Regions from separate parts of the Homo sapiens genome. Here region 1 is linked to region 2. Evidence: promoter capture Hi-C in human tissues and cell types (Jung and others, 2019). All regions are on one chromosome and are shown on one strand. Each heading gives the region's core, a stretch centred on a gene start or on the middle of the fragment in contact. The rest is flanking DNA. Distances are from core to core; before and after follow the strand shown. Region 1 holds the start of LINC01679 (long intergenic non-protein coding RNA 1679). Region 2 holds the start of HSF2BP (heat shock transcription factor 2 binding protein).

Region 1 (6,249 bases), core at 1,923-4,422, 300 kb after region 2:
GTGCCTCTCTCTGACCCAGCTGCAGGAGGGGCGCCTGGTGGCTTGCGTGCTGTGCCCTTGAGGATCATCTGTAACCAGCACCAGCCCCACCCTGCCCTCCGGACAGGACGCGCGGGCCAGGTTGGCGAGTCTGGAGGGGCTTTCTCAGGCATAGCCACTGTGAGAGCCGAGGTCCCCCACAGCCTGCAGCAGGGGACCTTTTCCCTGAGACCATGGGTACTTGCTGTAGTCCAGCTGGCGGGCCTGAGATCCTGACCCCATGTGCACATGGTCGGCACTATTGCATCCACTGGAAATTTCAAAGTAAAATCAGGACACGTGGGGGCAGGGAAGTGGGCTTGAGCGCTTCGCAGAGAGACCCTGCACCACCTCCCATTTGCTACGCTGGTTTCTTGAATGAGCGGCCCTCATTCATCAGACACCAATCTGCCCACAAACTTCTGACCAGGATCTGAGAATTCAGAGAAACCAGCCCCAAAACCACAGGCCTAGAAGCCTGGAACCCAGAGAGTGATTCCAGGAAATCATGGCAGGTGCACGCTGAGGTCACTTAGGCTGACCACAGCGAAGGTCAACGGCGGCCATCATAAATCAGTTTGCCCAGGACAGGCCCAGTGATGCCTGTGGTCCCAGTGCGTGTATTAACAACCTTCTCCTTTCTTCTCAAGGGGCTCAGATGGGTCGGTAGATTATACGGTCACCCTTGTCATGTCGGATTATGAACAAAATTTCAAGAGCTGCCTCCCTTCAACAAACCCACTGTGCAAAAACCCATCTTCCTAGTCAAGCAAATTAGGAAGAGATTATTCATTTTCCAAAAGACTTTTCCTTTGGCCAGGAAAGAACACCCTTAGTTTGCCAGAAAATCCTGCCAGCCGCCTCCCTGAGTGCATGGACTGCTAGATTCCGTTTTGTAAAATCGAGACAGCGGCTCAGGCGCACATGCAGTGCGTGGAGTGCAGAAGGCCTGGGTACTCCGGAAGCTTCCAGAGACAGCGTGGGGCGGCTGACGTGCGGGGAGACACAGACGTGGAGGACGCCACGGCCGCCTCGCCCCCAGGGCTCCCGGAGCGCGGCTGGCTGAGGAGCCAAGCAGATGGTGCTGCTGAGCGTTTCCTGCCTGGGCGGGAGGAGGTGGGGTTGCCGCCGGCGGGGCCTGTGACTGTGAGTGCGGCTCGCTGAGCAGCTGATGTGGGGGGTAGGGGGGGCGCGGATTACGCCATGTGTGACGGCAGAGGGGGGACAACGTGTCGAGAGACGTGGCCTTGGATGTAAGGAAGGGTCGTGAGAAAATACGCAGGAAGAGATACCCCGTGGACATGTTTCCCTTGGAAAGTGGAGGGAACCCTCTGAGCCGTGATTCCGCCTGAATTAAGCAGTGGCGGGCACTGGCCTGGCAGGCGGCTTCTACTGCCTTGGATTTGCACCTCTAAGGGGTCACAGGGGCCACCCCCGAAACAAGACAAAGTGTGATCATGGACAGGCCCTCGGGGGGCCGGAAGAAGGAACGGCTCCAGTGATGAAAGCTGAACGCCAGCTCTCTCCCCATCGTTCTCCCGGACCAGGAGAGGGCTGCTCGGCAGGGCTAGGTTTAAAAACCTTCCATGCAACTTACGAAGGCATCCACAGTGACTTCTGCTGCTGTGGTACGTTCTGCCCTCCCCTCCTCCCCGCCCCATCCTGTTCTCGGCTACAAGTTATTTATATGTACAGTGTCATCTGAACGTGCACGGGCCTATCCCAGGACATCACACACAAAGAGGCGGCGGTGAACCCAAGCCGCCGGGCCGGCCTGTGGCTCAGTGTGTGTTTCAGAAGTCCCGGCCCCAGGCAGCTCTCCTGAACAGAGCCACTGGAACTCAGGAGGGTCAGGACCACAGCCCAAACAACTGCGACCGAAAACACCCTACAGGGCTTGAGAACTAAAAAATAAGGAGGGATCTGGGCAGCCGAGCTGCCTCCTAAAGAAGCCACGTCATAGAGAAAACTGCTTGCTCTATCCATGAGACGGAGGCGGCCGGGGTGTCCTGCCAGCAGACACGGGTCTGTCCATCACCGGCCACCACGCTGCCTCTGTCCTTCACTCCCATTTAAGGGAAAACGATATCTCTTCATCTTTCTGCCCTGGACATTGGAAATCAGCGGTGAGAACAGTGCTCTTGCTACAAAATGCTCAGGTTCTAGAATGCTCCCATCTTTCCTTCCATTCCACATGGAGTTTATCCAAAGCACAAAGGCCAGTCACGGCACTGACATCCGTGGTGCCCGCTCACCGGGGAGTGGGAAGCACAAGCCTGTCCTCAGAGGACCGTGACTGTGAGCCCGCAGCTGCTTGTGGGTGGGGCCAGCCCGCAGCTCCTCCTGGAGGCCTCGGGCTTCTTGCTGCTGCATTTCTGTGACATGTGGAGGGAGGATCGTTTTGACACCTGCCTGGGAAGTTTCAAAGGAGATGGCCTCTGGGCAGGGGTTTTAAACTGAAGGGCACCACACAGATCCAGATGTGAACTGTGGCTGTTGTTTGCAATTGAAGCAGAGATGCAGAGGATGGAACAGGAGTGCTGGCCATGCTGCTCTATGGCCTTGGCCCAGCCAAGACCTGCAGTCAATGGGGCTACGGGACCCCCGCTACACAGGGACCTGGGAACCACCTTTGCCGCGGTTGACCGCTGGGCCCGCCATGCACCGCCCACACCTGGCTGTGCCTGGAGACTGAGAGCAGGGGGTGACGGTGGGCCTGGTGTGTGGAGTCCCGCAGCGGGAAGGGTGGGAGGGGAGGTGGGAGAGCGCAGTCACCCAGGGGTCCCCATGTGGGCTTGTACAGGCCTGGCCCAATCTGACAGCAACTGGGCAGGCAGAGCGAGCCCCCACTTTATGGGTGAGAAAACCGAGGCACGGAGAGGTGAATGCGCGTGGTATCAATGCCGCTAAGGCAGAAGTGAGGCGGAAAAGCCCGTCCTCGCGAGGGGCGGCCCTGTCTCCAGCTCCCAGGTACCTCCCGCTCATCTGCCCGAGGCTCCTGGGGATGTGGCTCTTGGGTTTCAGGAGGGCCCTGCTCCTCCTGTGGGAACCACGGACACGTGTGTGCCCGCGTGCCCTGAGCTCACACACACACACCATGGCGCATGGGCAGGGAAGCGGCGCTCCTGGCTACCCGGTGAGCATCTTTGCTTTCCTTCTGCTCTAAGTAGGCACCCAAGGAATACACGCGTTCACTCAGAGCCTGATTCATGTGACTGGGATAACACTGCGGGGAAAGGTTCTCACACAGTGGCTGACATGAGGATCCATTACAAGAGCCCAGGGTGGTCACTGCTAAGCATGGGGTTGAGGTGAATGGACCCCCAGCAGCAGCCAGTGACAGGGAGGGTTGGGGTGTGGGTTTAGCCGGGCAGGTGACTCTCTTTTGGGCAGCCAGGGGCTCGGGACGTGTGGACAGCACATGGTGAAGGCAGAGGCTGCGTGCTGTGTGCCTCAGAACCGGTGCCTGTTCCAGGTTAGGAACCAGAAAATCCCCTGCAGGGGCTTCTGCCCGCTCCCTCTTTGAAGTCCTGTTTTCATTTCCCCTGTGACACCAGCCTCTCCAAGCTCTATGGAAGGCTGGCTCTCCTGGCACGGCCTCCCCCGCCACTCTGGGTGCCGGCTCAGGTTCTCTGCAGACCCCAGGTTCTGCTCTCGGGTCTGCACCCAGCGTGATGGCCACCACCCACTCAGGACTCCATGGTGTCAAAAAAGTGCCAAGACCTGTTTCCTGCTTTAAAATACCATGCTGTTGGGAGTTTCTCTGAATCTTCTGTGATTCTGGAGGCTGCCTGATTTTAAAAAAATGTAGAAAATAAAATTAAAAACCATGCTGCAATGTAAAAGCCAGGATAAGCCTCTTGCAGCTGAATTCAGGTCTTGAAAGCTAACAAGTTTTGAGTTTCAGTACTTGCCCCCCAAAATGGTTGCTTATCGTGTGTGTGTGTGTGTGTGTGGTGTGTGTTTACACAGTGAACAACCTGATACCTTTGGCTGAAATGGGCTTTGTGTGGGCGTCGGGCCAGGGGGCTGCTGGGCTCCAATGTCTCCCAGCCCTGACTCCTGGGTGTTGGCCTGCCTCAAGTTTGCATATTCATTGACTGAAATCTATTTTATTTCCTCAGGAAGAGTCTCTCCCTTTTGCAAACGCCAGCCACAGAGGTTTATTTTTCTCCCTGAGAGAAGGAAGAGTGAAGGCTGAGACTGAGACAGAAGGACAGAAGGAGAAGACTTAGAAGCCAGTGAGCCCGGAACCACGAGACGCGCTCTGAGGACACGGGGCCTCGGGGAAACCGGGCACGGGCAGGGGTTGGTCTTGGCTTCCCCGCAACATTGCCGCGAGCTCGGGTGCCGTCTCCACTCGCAGGCTGGCCTGTCCTCTGCAGCCACGAGCTCAGGCACCGTCTCCGTTCATAGGCCAGCCTGTTCTCTGCAGCCTGAGGTCCCTGTGGTGCCAACATCCAGATGCTGAGATAATTCTGCCAGGGTGTTGGCTGATCGGTGATTGGTGGTTGGCTGTTCCGTGAGTTCTGCATTGATCTTGCTGGCTGAGCGTCCAATGCGGAGGGGCAGGTGCTGTTAGGGTCTCCACTCCCATCCCTCTCCCCAGGACTCATCACCCACTGCAACCGTAAGCTGCTAGGGGCTCACAGCCGTGAGTCTTTGGGACGGGTGGTCCCACCTGGCATGTAGCTCAGGCTCCTAGCCCCAGGACCCTGCCGCTGCTCCCCTCCCGCCCACATCTTGGCTTAGCCGTCTTCCCTGGCTGCCAGCCCCTTCCCCTGGTCTTAGTTGGCTTGAGCCACTAAACTGAAATAGCACACCCTGAGGCCTTCAACAGCAGACCTGATTTCTCACCATCTGGAGGCTGGAGGTCCAGGATCCAGGCCCCCAAGGCTGCTTTCTCCCCCACTCCCCCACCCACCTTCCAGGACACGCAGACTCCACCCTCTTGCTGCCCTGTCTCAGGGCTGTCCCTCTGGGCAAGCAGGCCCCTGGCATCCCCGTGTGTCTTCTCCTCCTGTTCTTATAAGGACACCAGTCATACTGGATCTGGGCCCACCCTAGTGACCTCATTTACCTTAATCACCTCTGAAAGACCTTGTCTCAAAAACAGCCACATTCTGGGGCACTGAGGGTTAGGGCTTTAACATGGGAATTTGAGGGATGCAATTCACCCCATAAAACCCAGACCATTCCCCCAGTAAATCACTTTCACAAGAGCTCTTCTCTCAGGCTTTGCTTCTGGGGGATCCCCCTTGAGATGGATCCATCTAGCTTCCTGCTTCTCAAAGAACAGAGGGGAGAGCTCTGGTGCGAAGGGAACGGGTGGCCTCGGGGACCTGCGGATAAGCTGCTGGCACTGCCAGGGGACAGGCTGAGCTGAAAGCCAGGAGGAGGGCGGCGAGGCCCGGGGCCGGACCTCATTCTTCTGAGTGTTATAAAATCTGGCTTTGCTCAGAAACTGCCCCATGTGTGCTTTTGTTAATTGAAGTGCAAAATTTTCTCCAAGTAATAACTGGAGTCGTTTAACAATACAAATAATTTGCACCTTAATTTGGTCGATGGCACAATTGCTAATTCCTAGAGACTCAGAGGAGCAAAGTGATCACGAATTCCAAGAGTGGAAACAAATCCATTCCGCAAATTTCACCCTGGCTTCTTCCTCGCCGGCCTGGGAGCTGCCCCGAGGGTCCTGGAACCTTCAGCTGCTTCCGGGCTCAGCCGGTGTCGTGGGGAGCCAGGTCCTGTGGTGGCTCCCAGCCCCAAAGCTGACTCTGCGTGGGACAACAAACGGTTTAATTAACCTCTCAGCTTTTTCATCTGTGAAGCGGAGCTTGGGATGCTTGCCACCGGACCAGGAGGCCACGAAGACGGATGTTAGAAAACCTCTGTGCCAGTGACGAAAGACATCGAAGCTATAATACCCTGTTAGGCAAAGCAAGAAGATAACTCATACATGCAGGAGACAGTCTCCTTGTGCAGAGGGGCCTTTGGAACCGATGTATGGTGGAGCCCTGAGAAACCTGAAGCTGTGTAGAGCCTGCAGCCCCCGCCCCACGTCCCAAAGCGATGTGGCCTGGGGAGCTCTTGTCCTGCCCTTTTTGGACACCCCCCTTCTTTGAGGGCATCTTTCTTCTTAAAGGTGTTGGGGCGGGAGTAGGTGGGGGTCTAGCTTTGCTGATTTCCTTGTAAGTGCATTTTATTATTATTATTATTATTATTATTATT
Region 2 (6,235 bases), core at 3,531-6,030:
GCCTCCCGGGTTCAGGTGATTTTCCTCCCTCAGCCTCCCAACCTCAGGTGATCCACCCGCCTCGGCTTCCCAAAGTGTTGGGATTACAGGCGTGAGCCACTGCGCCCGGCCCATTTTGTTCCCTTTTAAAACATCTATTTTCCATTTATGTCTGTGTGTGTGTGTTCACCTAGGAATCTAATAAAAACAAGCCACCAATTTTTGAAGTATTCAAAGTAAAAGAGAGAAATGCTCATTACTGAATTACTTTCAAAGCTCTGAAAGGCAAAGTACATTATCTGAAGCAGTTTGGTTTCATCAGTCTTGTCTTCTCTATTTTCTTCTTGGGGCTAAATTTCTTAAACTTAATACTACTGTTTTTACAACAATACAATATAGGTTTATTTATTTCAAAATGAATGAGGTAGGCCAGGTACAGTGGCTCACTTCTGTAATCCCAGCACTTTGGGAGACCGAGGTGGGCAGATCACCTGAGGTCAGGAGTTCAAGACCAGCCTGGCCATCATAGAGTGAAACCCTGTCTCTACTAAAAAAATACAAAAATTAGCTGGGCATGGTGGTGCATGCCTGTAGTCCCAGCTACTTGGGAAGCTGAGGCAGGATAATCGCTTGAACCTGGGAGGTGGAGGTTGCAGTGAGCCGAGATTGTGCCACTGCACTCCAGCCTGGGCGACAGAGCAAGTCTCTGTCTCTCAAAAAAACAAAAACAAAGGCTGGGCACGGTGTGGCTCACACCTGTAATCCCAGCACTTTGAGAGGCCTAGGCGGGCGGATCATGAGGTCAGGAGCTCAAGACCAGCCTGGCCAACATGGTGAAACACCGTCTCTACTAAAAACACAAAAATTAGCCAGGCGTGGTGGTGGGCGCTCGCTACTCGGGAGGGTGAGGCGGGAGAATTGCTTGAAACTGGAAGGTGGAGGTTGCAGTTAGCAGAGATCGCGCTGTTGCACTTCAGCCTGGGTGAAAGAGTGAAACTCTGTCTCAAAAAACAAAAACACACAAAACAAACGAGGTAAACATCAAAGTGAGACATGTAGACATGTGAAATATTAGTAAGTTTTGAAATGAGCAAATCCAACAGCCACTCTCACCACGCAATGAGCCCAGAAGCCATTTTAGATGGGGGTAAAGTGTTAAACTTGAACACACCCCAGTGTCAGAACATCCACAACTTCTATTTATTATAACTCTTGGATAGAGAGAACCCTAACCCCATCATTATAAAAAAACTTATATCCTCCATCATCTACACTGAATCTAATATAGCATCAACCATAAGATGTACTGTTATTTTGTATGCTGCCAAAAAGAAAGCAATGATACAAATGAAATTGTCACTGGGTTGATTTTGGGATGCCTCCCCATTTTAGTCAATATTTTTAAAGTTGCAGAACTGATAAGATAGGCAGGGATGGTCTGTTTTGTTCACTGCTATATTCCCAGTGCCAAGAATAGCGTACATAATAGTACACAGTTGGCACTCCATAAATGTTTGCTAAATATATGAATGAATGAATGAATTGGGACAAATAAGCTCTTATGGATGAAAGCCATGGAGAGTGATCATTTTATGACTGTGAGCACCCAACTTGAACAGTTAAAGCAAGAGCGCAACACTGTTACTTAAAGCAATACAAAGATTTCCAATTTATTTTTAAAATGACAAAGCTATCTATTGATGTTGCTGCAGAACAGCTCATGTTTCAGGAAGAGTGATAGCTCACATTTCCTTTATGATGCCTAAGACAAGATGCAGAAAAGTTGGAGCCTGTCATCGGGAGTCGAATGTCAGGCCAAGTTATTTCCAAACTTGTGCTGTAATTGTGATGGGGCATAGCTGTGGTGGAGACCTTGTGTTTTCTTGTCCCATTATCACTGTCCACGACGTTCATGCTGCGGAGTTATTTTCTGAAGGTCCACTGTACTCCATGCAATGTGGTGGTGAACAAGATATACAAGACAAGTCACTCTGGGTGTGATAGGCACTAACCAGACAGGACTCTGGAGCACTGGTGTAAACTGGTCTTAGGCCCCCGCATAACCTCTGCATTTGCAAATCCTGGGCTGGCTCACCAAAGGGTTTGAGCAAAAGGCTCTGTCTAGGCTGTCTTAGCACCGTAAGTATTGCCTCTGGTCTTCCACTCTTGTACAGGCCAAGACCTTTTACGGTTGCATGTACTCCCACTTCTGGCTAAGAAAACAGATGGAAGCTTACGGTGTTTCGGGAGAAGGATGACACATTGATAATTAAGAAGCAATGTAGCTAAGTGCTACAACAGAGACACAATGGATGTTTTAGAACCCTGGAGGAGTAGGGCAAGATGCTAGGCGAGGCTTTTTGAAGGAAGTGATACTGAACTGAATGCTGGCAGTGAAGAAGGTGTGGGATTCTTTGCAGAGTGAACAGGAGAAGCAAAGGCAGAGAGGTGAGAAATTGTGTGCTGTACACCAAGAACCATCACCGATTCTGTTGACGGAACATGAAGCAGTTACACGGGGCTTAGGCAGGAAGAGCACCTGAGGACAGATCATGACTTGCAGACACTGAATTTCAAAAAATATTGGTGATGTGGGATCAGATTTGTTTTAGGAAGATGACCCTGGGCTGGTCTGTGGAGGACAGATTCCTGGGGACACAAGTGAAGTTAAGGAGACCAGTTGGGGAATATGCGGGCGCAGAAGTTTCGGTGAGATACAAAGAGCCCACGGTCAAGAATTTATGTCATCAGGAGGTGAACGAGGGAGGACGGGGGTCCTCCCACTGGATGTGGGCCAGGGGAAGAGGATGAGGAATTCAGAGGAGTCCAGGACAATCCCGTGTGTCCGGCTGGAATCTGAATGGCTGGTGGGAACCAGCAACCAAAAGAAAAGAAAACAGGTGGCAGTGGAGCAGCAGCAGAGAACAGGATTTCGGGGAAAGAAAACAGAACTTTTTTTGGCATCCTGAGTGTGAGGTGCCAGGTAGAGAAGCCAGGCTAGCAAGGCACATCCGAGCTGCAAGTAGGAATGGGCTGGGACAACAATTTAGGTTTAGAAACCACCAGCATATATGGGGTACCTGGAACTGTGAGACTAAACAAAATCTCTTGGGGAGATTCTTAACAGAATCAAAGTCAGGAATTTTGGTCTTTATTCCTTTTTCTATCAGACTTCCCAGGAAAGTGTATTTTCTTTTTTTGGGTAGTCTGGTGATTTCTCTTAAAAATAAAACAAACTGAGAATGTCAGTGATGGGGGAGATAATATCTGTTCTTTTAAGCAGATTCTAAATGTATTAGTACCATCAGTAACTAAATAAAACTTTATCTTAAAACCTCTATTACACATTGTAGTTCATATTGTATGGGCTCACTCAAGAGTTTATAGAAAGTATTTTTGGATCAGGTAAATGAAATCATCCAACAGCAGTGCCGTTAAAATCTAAACTACAAAGCCCTGTGTGATCTGGCCACTGCCTACATCTCCAACTTCATCTCATAACACTCGCCCCCCCAACCCCAACTTATTGGTCTTTCAAACCACTCCTAGGGCACGTGAAGCTCTTTCCTGCCTCTGCATAGGCGGTTTCCGCTCATTTCTCTTCAGATCTGAGCTGATTATCAGCCCAGAGAGGCCTTCCCAGAACAGCCTATCAAGAAGAGCAACCTCCTTCCCTTTTTGCTATTATCTGGTTTTCTTTTTCCTTTTTTCTTTTCTTTTCTTTTTGAGACGGAGTTTCGCTCTTGTTGCCCAGGCCGGAGTGCAATGCTGCGATCTCGGCTCACCGCAACCTCCGCCTCCCAGGTTCAAGCGATTCTCCTGCCTCAGCCTCCCGAGTACTGAGATTACAGGCATGCGCCACCATGCCCGGCTAATTCTGTATTTTTAGTAGAGCCGGGGTTTCACCATGTTGGTCCGGCTGGTCTCGAACTCCCGACCTCAGGTGATCCGCCCGCCTCGGCTTCCCAGAGTGCTGGGATTACATGCGTGAGACACCGCGCCCGGCCTGCTACCTGGTTTTCATTTCCTTTACTACACTTACACAAGGTCTACTTTATTTGCCTGTTTGCCTCCTTGCTTTATTACTAATAGATCCTCGAGGGTAGTGATTTTGTCTGTCTTCTCTCCTGCAGCCCCGTCACGTAAAGGTGCTGGTCAAAGGAAGGCGGCAATCACCGACCGGACACCAGGGCAAATCAGGGCAGCCCAGTGATTCGAGATGCCGGCTGGGGAATCGGACCCATGTGGGTCTTTTCTCAGCTTCCCCGCTTACTGTGACTTTCATAAGTAACGGAACCCCCTCAACCCGTTTCCTTAAGTGTAAAAAGGCACTAGACACAGCAAGAAGCGGTTCCGGCAGCGCGGAAACCGAAGCACACGCTGGGTGTCACGACAACACGTGGAAGCCGCATTCCGTGCCGGGGCCCTGGCCCTAGCCCCAGCCCCGGCCCCCGGCCCGCCATGTGGCGCGGCTGACCGCGGCCGTGCGCCCACCTGTCTCCCTCTGCGTCTTCACGCTGATGTACTGGCGCAGCTTCTTCACCGCTCGGTCCCGGATGCCCTTCTCGCTGGACGCCAGCCGCTGGGCAAATTGGATCTCGGCCGGCTGCATGGCGGGGGCCATCGCGCCCGCTGGAGCATCCCCGGCCGCGCAACCCGCGGTGCCGCTGCAGCCAGCCGAGCGCTGCGGAGCAGCCAGCCACCGTCCGCCCGGGCCGCGACTGCACAGAAGGCGGCGGCGGCGGCGCGCGGGCTGATGGCGTCACAAAGGCGCCGCGGCTCGCAGCGCGCTCTGGGAGTGAGCGCGGCAGTGGCCCTGGCAGCTGGCGGAGCGGCCCAGCCCGTGTGCACGTGGCGCCGGCGCTGCCTTTCGGTTGCCAAAATTCAGGCTGTAGACGGCGAGGTTAGCCAGGGTTAGGACTTGACCAGGAAGAGACGGAAGGCTGTTTGTAAACGGTCTAGGATTTTTTGTTTGTTTTTGAGACAGGGTCTCCCTCTGTCGCCCAGGCTGGAATGCAGTGGCGCGATCTTGGCGGTGATCCTGGCTCACTGCAGCCTCGACCTCCCAGACTCGATCGATCCTCCCATCTCGACCGCCCAAGTAGCTGAGACTACAGGCGCGCGCCATCACGCCCCACTATTTGTTATTTTTTTGTAGAGACGGTGTCTCGCTATGTTGCCCAAGCTGGTCTCAAACTCCTGGGCTCAAGCAATCCTCCCGCGGCGGCCTCCCTGATCGCTGGGATTACAGGCTTGAGCCGCCGCGCCTGGCCACGGTCCAGGATCTTTAATCCCATTTAGCACACCTCGTTGAGCCAGCAGCTTACCTGCGATCTCCGTGGCGTGGAGTTTTTAACTGTGGAGCCCCCGGGCCCCCGGGTGGAGTTGAGACTGGAAGGAAAGGCCGGCACTGGGGCCTGTTGAGCGGGTGGAGGGCTCGCCTTCCTCCAGTGCCTGCAGAGGCTTGGGCAGATCGGTGCGCCCCTACCCCGGAGCCCTGGTGCCAGTGCAAGGGCGCCCGCGCAGGCGTCCCGAGGCCTGGCGAGCACGCGCGCTTCCAGGGGAGTTGGGCAGGGCGGGCTGCTTGCTAATTCCAGAGAGGGAAGAAATCTTAGCTTTGGGTTCATCTAAAACCCGAGGCCATCCTATATTTTGCGGACTCAGCGGGCGTGCTGGGGCAAGTTAATGGACTAGGTCACTCCACACGTAGCGGGGGTTATCTCAGTTGCTCCGCTCAGTTGTCTAGGCGACCTCCCGAGGTGCCTGTTGACACAAAAATTCAACCCTTAACGTAAAAGCGCCTGAATCCGAGCGAGGGAAGGCGCGCGGAGGCGAGGTTTCCAGCAAAGACTGCCCATTTGAACGCAGTCCCCCTTAGTGTAGCATTCCTCGCCAAACAGGAAAGGACCCATCCGATTTATTTTACTTGACACTTACATCAGGGGCTGACTTTCCTTCTGCTTTGCAGATAACAAGTTTAAAACCCCGGCTAAGCCAGAAGAGCCAAAGAGGGACCTCGCCAAGGCCACTCCTCGCTCTCTAGGCCGAGAATACTGCGCAAATTCTGGGAGGTTTGGGCCTGGCGGCTCTCCGTTCCCGACCCCCGGCGTGGATTCGTTCCCGCGCTTTCTGGCGTGAGGGGTCAGAGGGCGCGCCGACGCTCAGGCGAACGGAGCGGAGGCGGCAGCGGCCATGGGCGAAGCGGGCGCCGCTGAGGAGGCCTGCCGGGTTAGTGAGGAAGCCCTGGCCGACGCCA

What was found. Contacts are between HindIII fragments. The study calls those that stand out against the background at their distance.
Region 1: a contact is called between a fragment that was not itself captured here and the fragment with the promoter of HSF2BP in region 2, in 1 of the 25 tissues and cell types used here (IMR-90 fibroblasts).

Annotation. Positions count from the first base shown.
Region 1 is chr21:43,357,380-43,363,628 of GRCh38, reverse strand. LINC01679 (long intergenic non-protein coding RNA 1679) reads left to right here and starts at 1,280. Exons shown (of 2, transcript NR_131902.1): 1 at 1,280-2,737; 2 at 4,143-5,574. RefSeq lists enhancers at 1-24, 1,871-2,020, 2,804-3,360, 3,361-3,918 and a silencer at 1,041-1,190. The HindIII fragment of the contact is 6,310 bases long and covers 18-6,249 here.
Region 2 is chr21:43,658,033-43,664,267 of GRCh38, reverse strand. It overlaps HSF2BP (heat shock transcription factor 2 binding protein), which reads left to right and starts at 4,780. Exons shown (of 9, transcript NM_007031.2): 1 at 4,780-4,882; 2 at 5,948-6,207. The coding sequence starts at 6,172. It overlaps RRP1B (ribosomal RNA processing 1B), which reads right to left and starts at 4,708. Exons shown (of 16, transcript NM_015056.3): 1 at 4,474-4,708. The coding sequence starts at 4,603. RefSeq lists enhancers at 907-966, 3,716-3,765 and a silencer at 4,486-4,675. The HindIII fragment of the contact is 9,655 bases long and covers 529-6,235 here.